Regions from separate parts of the Homo sapiens genome. Here all the other regions are linked to region 1. The links are contacts of gene promoters, found by promoter capture Hi-C in human tissues and cell types (Jung and others, 2019). All regions are on one chromosome and are shown on one strand. The core of a region is centred on a gene start or on the middle of the fragment in contact, and the rest is flanking DNA. Distances in the headings are between cores, read along the strand shown.

What was found. Contacts are between HindIII fragments. The study calls those that stand out against the background at their distance.
Region 2: a fragment that was not itself captured here is called in contact with the fragment with the promoter of PDE2A in region 1 in 2 of the 25 tissues and cell types used here (adrenal gland and lymphoblastoid cells).
Region 3: a fragment that was not itself captured here is called in contact with the fragment with the promoter of PDE2A in region 1 in 1 of the 25 tissues and cell types used here (spleen).

What each region holds. Positions count from the first base shown.
Region 1 is chr11:72,672,983-72,675,682 of GRCh38, forward strand. PDE2A (phosphodiesterase 2A) reads right to left here and starts at 1,440. Exons shown (of 31, transcript NM_002599.5): 1 at 1,155-1,440. The coding sequence starts at 1,225. RefSeq lists enhancers at 9-635, 636-1,261, 1,262-1,888, 1,889-2,513, 2,664-2,700. The HindIII fragment of the contact is 13,863 bases long and covers 1-2,700 here.
Region 2 is chr11:72,250,707-72,253,406 of GRCh38, forward strand. It overlaps the pseudogene LOC220077. Among named protein-coding and RNA genes, the nearest start is that of PHOX2A, 7.9 kb to the left of the region's middle. The HindIII fragment of the contact is 7,877 bases long and covers 1-2,700 here.
Region 3 is chr11:73,116,499-73,119,198 of GRCh38, forward strand. The region is part of intron 2 of FCHSD2 (FCH and double SH3 domains 2); the gene reads right to left. Among named protein-coding and RNA genes, the nearest start is that of FCHSD2, 24 kb to the right of the region's middle. The HindIII fragment of the contact is 4,925 bases long and covers 1-2,700 here.

The sequences.
Region 1 (2,700 bases), core at 190-2,689:
GATACACACACACACCAGCCACAGAAGCACCGATATACACACTAGCACCATGATCACACACCCACACCAGAATACTTATACGCACACAGCCACATCCACCTCCACACACAGCAATGCTATTATTCACACACTAACAAATACACACACATAAATGCACATGGAACAGATAAAAAATGCACACTGATTCACTCTATTTTGCAGACACAACACACATAATATACAAACTCAACCTAATAGACACACCTACATACATATGCAGACCAACCTGCACTCACACTCAGACACATGCGAATAAACTCTCACTCACACAGGGATGATCACAAACTCTGACAGGCTGCTTTACATCCAACCACCAAGGACCCTAGAGCTCTACAGGCCCCTCTACACCCAACATGTCCCTTACATTCCACATGTATACACACACACACACACACACATACCCTGCCTACCACCTCGGCAGCCCTTAGTAGAGGGGTGTCGCCACGGCGCCCCCCACTCACTTGCACATGCACCCCCCTGCACGTGGACACACACGAGGCTGGCACCATATTCCATCTGGCTCCGTAGAACCCTATCCTGGGACAGACGCTTTGGGGTAAAGTTTCATAAAGTGGTGTCCCTGAACCCCAATTCCCAATTCCATGGAAGGTGGTTACCTCTAACCCTCTCTTGCTCCAGGGCCACTCTTATTCATATTTTCTCCATCTTTCCCCCTCCCCACCTCCTTCACACACACATAGCCTTGGTGGGCCAAGACACTCTCCCTCTCCGGGTCCTGAACCAGCCTATTGCAGCCCCGAGAGCTCCTCCCAACTACTTGGCAGACCTCCCCCTCCCCACATACACCCTCAGCCCTTGAAGAACCGGTTCAGGTTCATTATCAGCCCCTCCTCCAACCAGCAGCCCCTTCCATGGGACCCCAGCCTCATCACCTACTAGGTTGACGTTAGACACCCTCATTCTGCTCAGAGGTAACCTGCCCCCACCCCAGGCTGCAGTCTGGCAACGCGGGGAGGAGGGGTGCCCAGGAACAGGATCGATCCTTCCACGTGGCTCAGCTCCATGCCAACCCCAGCTCCTTGGAGGGACTCCCAGGACCCTGTCTGTGGCACCTCTCACAGCCGCTCACCACCCCAGCCCCTCACTATACTCACGGCTCAGCCGGTCGCGCTGCCGGGTACTGCTGGCTCCTGCAGAGGATGGAGTGGCCGCATGCCTGCCCCATCACTCCTCATCGTCCGCCTCCCCAGCCAGACTAAGGTGGCACCTCGCCCTGTCCCCGCTGCCTGGAGTTCAGGGCAGGGCACCCCCAGCAGGCACAGGGACCAAGAGCAGTGGGCTGCCCCCTACTCAGCCTGGACTCAACACCCCAATCCAGCTCTGCTGCCCCGCTGCTCCCGCCTCTCCCGCTGCCACTGCCTCTGCTGCTCGGCTGGCTCTGGGAGGAGGTTGGAGCAGGTCTGATAATGCAGAAGGGGGAGGGAGGAGGGAGGAGGAACAGAGAGAGGCCCAGACAGAGAGGGAGAGAGGGAGAGAGGGAGGGGTAGAGAGAGAGTCTGACTGGGAGAGAGGAAAAAAGACTCACAGACAGAGAGACTGAGAGATAAACAGAGACAGGAAGGGGGACAGTAACACATGAAGAGGGAGAGGAGAGAGGGATCAGAGCCTTAGCGAGATCAAGATGGAAGTACAAAGAGACCAGAGAGGCATAGAGAAACACACACACAGAGGAACAAAGGCAGAAAAGGAAAAAAAATCAGAGGCAGAAATAGAAAGAGAGTGGGGTAGGGGGAAAGGGGAGTGGCTGACAGAGGAGAGAGGGGAGAGGACGAGGGATTTACAATCCTCATGGGCTAGGATGGGGCTGGGGACTTGAGGGGCAGCAGACCCAGACCCTCTGCTGCCCCATCGCAGAAGCCTTCAGGATGAGGGGACACGCTTGTGCCCTCAAGTCTGAGAGATCAGGCCTCCATGCACAGCTAGCTGCCCTCTCCTCTGGGCTCCCTCACCCGGTGTGTATCATCTCCTAGCGTGCATCCCAGCCTGGAGCTGGGTCCACGGAAGACTTAGGGGGCTTTACTGATGGCCTTTGGACTCAGAGCCTTGTCACAGGGCCCACCTCTTGGTGGCTTGGTTTAGCTGGGACTTGGAGCTGATGCGTGAGCATGGACTTCTACCAGGATCTGTGGAGACCTAGGCCACAGCCTGCCCCACATGGCCTTCGCTGCTCACAGACTACAGGCATGGGGGAAGGCCTGTTGCACCCCCACCCTGCTTCCAAAGAGGACTCCCTAGGATAAAGCTATAACCTAGTGAAATAGAGGCATTTTAGGCCCTAGGACAGATAGAGAGTTGTCACAGCAGAGCTACTATTGTATGCAGGAGAAACAGCTCCACACCTTGAGGCAGGAAATGGGGATTTGGATCCTGGCTTCACCATTAACTTACTTATTCATTGGCCTACCAGTGGCTGAGCTCATGGCTCACACTATCCCTTGTCTCAGAGAAGCACTCGGGCTGGGGAGTGGGGAGGGGAGACTTGCAGGCTGTGACAGAAAGAAGCACAGGGTCTGTGAAGCCCAGAGGGACCCCTGACCTAGTTTGGGTGGTGGGGGGGCGGTTAGCAAGCATTTCTGGAAGAGAGGGTCCAAGCTGGGTCTTTTAAGGCAGAAGAGGGTATATTCCAGGGTAGAGGAGCTA
Region 2 (2,700 bases), core at 149-2,648, 420 kb before region 1:
GTACCTGACTCTGGGCTCCCATGGTCAGGAGAGTCAGCCTTTCAGCCTCCACCCTCAGCACGTAGGAGGCATGCAGGCCACAGTGCTCGACCGCCTCAGTCCTCTGCACCGTTACCCAGAACTGGGATCCTTCCCAGGTGGGGCTGCACAAGGAGTTCTCCAGCATCTCCAGGGCAGAAAGCTCAGGTGGGTTATTGGTAGGTTCCAGAGTCCAGCTGCCTTTCCGAAGGGGGTTTTGGCACAGCGTCTGCAACCAGGCTGCACTGGACGGCACATCAACAGCCAGCAGGTGCTAGTGCTGTGCAGTGTCCAGGCGGAAGGCAGTGGCGCTGGGCTCAGGGAGGCTCTCCACGGCCACGGGGACCAAACTCACACACTTCGCCAGATGGATCACCTTGCAGTCCAGGCAGCACGAGCTCCCTCGGCCACTCCCAGAGCTCGACCCCTTATGGTCAAAGAACTTGAGCCGCGCTAGCCATGGGGACTGGCCGGGTAGAGCATGGCCCAGGTCTTCCTCCACCTCTTGGTCCCAAAGTGCTGACTCTGCGAAAAGAGCGGCCCTTCTGTCATAGCTCCGTCCATGGCCCCCAGCGGTTGCTTCCCCCCTTCTCCCTCTTATCAAGTGACTGAGTACTGTGGCACTGATAGATCCACACCAGACTCTGGCCAGGCTCCCTCTGATCTGTTACTCCTGAAACTTGCATATATAACCCAGACACGATGCACCACAGCATCACCTTTACCTGAAAGATTCAGAAGGCATCAGGGCCCTGCAGAGTTACCCAGCGTGATGGCTTCATTTTTGCAGATGAAGAGACCAAGGCCCAGCGAGGGATCCTATAGAAAGAGTAAAAGTAAAGCCAATGAGCATGTGTCAGAGGAGGAGTCCCCCACAGAAGGAGTGGCAGGTAAAAGGATCCTTGTGGACAGATATAGTGGGGACTGCTCTGGATCTTCTGCTTCGTTCCCTGCTCTGACATTAACTTAGTCTGTGAGCTCAGGCAGTGGAAGCGGTTGAGGAAGGACCCGTGCCCTGGAGAACTCTTTTTGCCAGTGATCATTTGGAGAGTGGTATCCTGGGGATTCCCAGGTGTCACCACTTTATTCTCACTTCTGCCAGAAACACTGATCTTAGCCTCCCCTCAGAAATCTGAGCAAGAATGTCCTGGGCTCAGAGTGTGGCCACTATGCTGGCTTCTTACTCCAGTGCACTCCTGCCAGCCCTCCTCTCCTCTGGGGGAGCACACGGAGCCACAGCTCCTCCCTAGCATCGAAATGCATCTTTGTACCCTCCAAAGTGATGTCTTCAGTGTCATCGTTATTCAATTATGCTCAGAAGCTGAGCTTGATCAGACATCCAATATAACTTCCATCAAGTAATGAAACTTCTTTTTTTTTTTTTGAGACGGAGTCTCGCTCTGTCACCCAGGCTGGAGTGCAGTGGCACAATCTCGGCTCACTGCAACCTCCGCCTGCTGGGCTCGAGCGATTCTCCTGCCTCAGCCTCCCGAGTAGCTGGAATTACAGGCACGTGCCATCGTGCCTAGCTAATTTTTGTATTTTTAGTAGAGACGGGGGTTTCACCATGTTGCCCAGGCTGGTCTTGAACTCCTGACCTCAGGTGATCCACCCGCCTCGGCCTCCCAAAGTGCTGTGATTACAGGCGTGAGCCACCGTGCTGGCGGGATGCTTTCTTTAAGGATTTCCCAGTCTGGTGGGCACATGGAAACTTACCTGGGGAGAGGGGGGATTTCTCTTTAGAATGTCTTAGTTGTTTTTGTAAGACAATGGTACAGAGAAGTCTTGTTGCTTCCTTTAAAAAGGGGAAAGAAAAAACAAAGTTTGACCCTACCAACGTTGCTATGCTCTGACAAGCTTATCCAGGTGATATGGTTTGGCTGTGTCCCTACCCAAATCTCATCTTGAATTATAGCTCCCATAATTCCCACGTGTTGTGGGAGAGACCCGATGGGAAGTAATTGAATCATGGGGACGAGTATTTCCTGTGCTGTTCTTGTGGTAGTGAATAAGTCTCACGAGATCTGATGGTTTTATAAATAGGAGTTCCCCGGCGCAAGCGCTCCTGTCTGCCGCAATGTAAGACGTGGTTTTGCTGCTCATTTGCCTTCCGCCATGACTGTGAGGACTCTCCAGCTATGTGGAACGGTGAGTACATTAAACCTCTTTCCTGGCCGAGTGCGGTGGCTCATGCCTGTAATCCCAGCACTTTGGGAGGCCGAAGTGGGTGGATCACCTAAGGTCAGGAGTTCCAGACCAGCCTGGCCAACATGGTGAAACCCCGTCTCTACTAAATATAAAAAAAATTAGCCGGGCATGGAGGTGCCACGCCTGTAGTCCCGGCTACTCGGAAGCCTGAGGCAGGAGAATCGCTGGAACCTAGGAGGCGAAGGTTGCAGTGAGCCGAGATCATGCCACTGCACCCCAGCCTGGGCGACAGAGTAAGACCCCATCTCAGAAGAAAAAAAAAAAAAGGTTCTTTCCTTTAAATTATCCAGTCTCGGATATGTCTTTATCAGTAGTGTGAGAACAGACTAATACACCAAGTTATTGTGCATGGGAAGGAACCTGCCAATGGGCTGCCATAATGAACAATTATGGAGTGGTCATCCAGCACCATTCTTCCCTCTTGGGAACTGTCATATCCATCTAGATGGCTACCCAGGGACCATTGCTTTTACA
Region 3 (2,700 bases), core at 138-2,637, 440 kb after region 1:
GCCTAGTGCATTATCAAAAGTCATAATTCCTTCTTTCGTTTTTGTTTTTTTTTCTTTGAGATGGGGTCCCACTACTCTGCCACCCATGCTGGAGTGCAGTTGTGTGGTCATAACTCACTAAAGCCTTTAAATCCTGGGCACAAGCTCCCGCGTCAGCCTCCCAAGTAGCGGGGACTACAGGCATACACCACCATGCCCAGCTAATTGCTTTTTATTTTTATTAGGGACAGGATCTCGCCATGTTGCCCAGGCTAGTCTCGAACTCCTGGCCTCAAGCAATCTCCCAACTTGGCCTCTCAAAGTGCACGGATTACAGGCATGAGCCACAGCGCCTGGCCCATATCTCTTTTTTTAGTTATGAACTCAAATTGTTTCATGGTCAATTCAAGTTCCTCTTTATTCTTCGGTAAGAGTAATTATATTTTTTCATGTAAAACCTTTCCATTTTTCCCCAAAAAAAATCACTATTGTTATATCTCTGTTTCATTTTTAGCATATTGATTTTTATTACTCCTTTTTCCTGAGTTTTCTGTATCATATTGGTCTTTTCAAAAAACTAGCTGTTGGCCTATTGATTATACGTATTTTTGTTTTCCATTCATCTTTCTACTTATCAATAACAGAAGCTGGTATTTATAAGCTGGTACTTATAACAAATACATTCTACATGTACTAACATATTAACTTATTCAATCTTCACAAACCTATGAATTTGATTCTATTATTATCTTCATTTTGTAGATAAGGAAGCTAAGAAGACACAGACGGGTTAAGTAACCAAGTTTGGACAAGCAGGAAGTGGAGAACTAAGAATTCACAATCAGGCAATCTGGTTCAAGAGTCCACACTCTTAAATACTACATAATAATGCATGATTTATATTTTATTATTTTTCCATCCTATTAGGCTTTTAGGCATATTTTGGGTTTTTTCCTAATTTATTGAGATGAACCCACTACCTTTCAATCTGTCCTATTTTCTAACAAATTCATTAAGAGCTATAAATTTCCTTTTGAATCATACCCTACAAGTTTGTTTATATAGGGCATTCATTTTCATTGTGTGGTATTTAGTAATTCTCATTATAATTTCTACTTTAACTCAGTTAGTAGTGGTTTTGTTTGTTTTTAGTTTGCAAGCACAAGTAGGGGAATGGGAAGAAAGCTTCAACAGATTATTGCAAAATTTTTCAATCACATTGTAAAGAATTTTACAGCTAACATCCATATAGCCGCCATTAGATTCTGCCACAAAATTCTATTAGACTTGCTTTATCACATATCTATCCATTTATCCATCTCCCTAGCCATTAATTAATCCACCTTATTTTTGGTGTCTTTAAAGCAAATTGTAGACAATAATACTCTTCCCTCTAAATATTTCAGCATGCTTAGTGTTAACCAGCATCCAATATTTGCTTATCTTTTTATGTAAAACTACTTAAAATCATATGCACACATATTATATATACATTTTCTGAGTTTTGACAAATGTACATACCTATGAAACCCAAATCCCTATCAAGACATAGAATGGGGCCAGGCCCAGTGGCTCACACCTGTAATCCCAGCACTTTGGGAGGCCAAGGTGGGCAGATCACTGGAGGTCACGCATTCCCGAGACCAGCCTGGCCAACATGGTAACACCCCATCTCTACTAAAAATATAAAAATTAGTAGGGTATGGTGGCAGGTGCATATAATCCCAGCAACTTGGGAGGCTGAGGCAGGAAAATTGCTTGGACTCAGCAGGCAGAGACTGCGGTGAGCCGAGACTGTGCCACTGCACTCCAGCCTGGGTGACAGAGCAAGACTCCATCTCAAAAAAACAAAAACAAAAACAAAGGACACAGAATGGCACTATCATCCCAAAAAGTTTCCTCATGCCCCATCTTAGTCAATTCCTACCCTTAAACACCAGAGGAAACCACTGTACTGACTTCTCCACCACCACAAATTAGTTCTGCCTGTTTTAGAACTTTTCAGTATATAATTCTGGAGTATAGTATACAGTATATATTCTTGTATCTGAATTCTTTCACTAAGAATGTTTCTGAGATTCACCCACATTGATGTGTGTATCCATAATTCACTCATTTTTATTGCTGAATGGTATATTTGGAGGTTTTTCTTTTTGGTGTAAGGAAGAGGATGTTTATCTCTTCATTACTGATTTCTATTTTCATTGCATGTGATCAGAGAATATGATGATACTATAATGATGATGGCAAACACTAACTGAGCCCTTACCACGTGTAATGCATTGTTCTGAATGCCAGCCCTCACAACTCTGAGAGACCACTATTACCATTTCTGTTTTACAGATGAGAAAATTGAAGCACATAAGTAACTTACCCAAGGTCATACAACTAGGGGAAAACCACATTTGGTTCCTGAGCCCTCTCTTAGACACATACTACACAACATGTATGATATCAATTCCACAGAATTATTTGAGACTCTTTTTATGGGCTAATAAATAAATAATTAATTTTTGTTTGAAAAGAATGCATATTCTCTAAAGGCCAGGCGCGGTGACTCACGTCTGTAATCCTACCACTTTGGGAGGCCAAGGCAGATGGATAGCTCAAGCTTGGGAGTTCGGGGCTATCCTGGGCAACATGATGAGATCCTGTCTCTACATAAAATACAAAAATTAGCCAGGCATAGTGGCACATGCCTGTAGTCCCAGCTACTCGGGA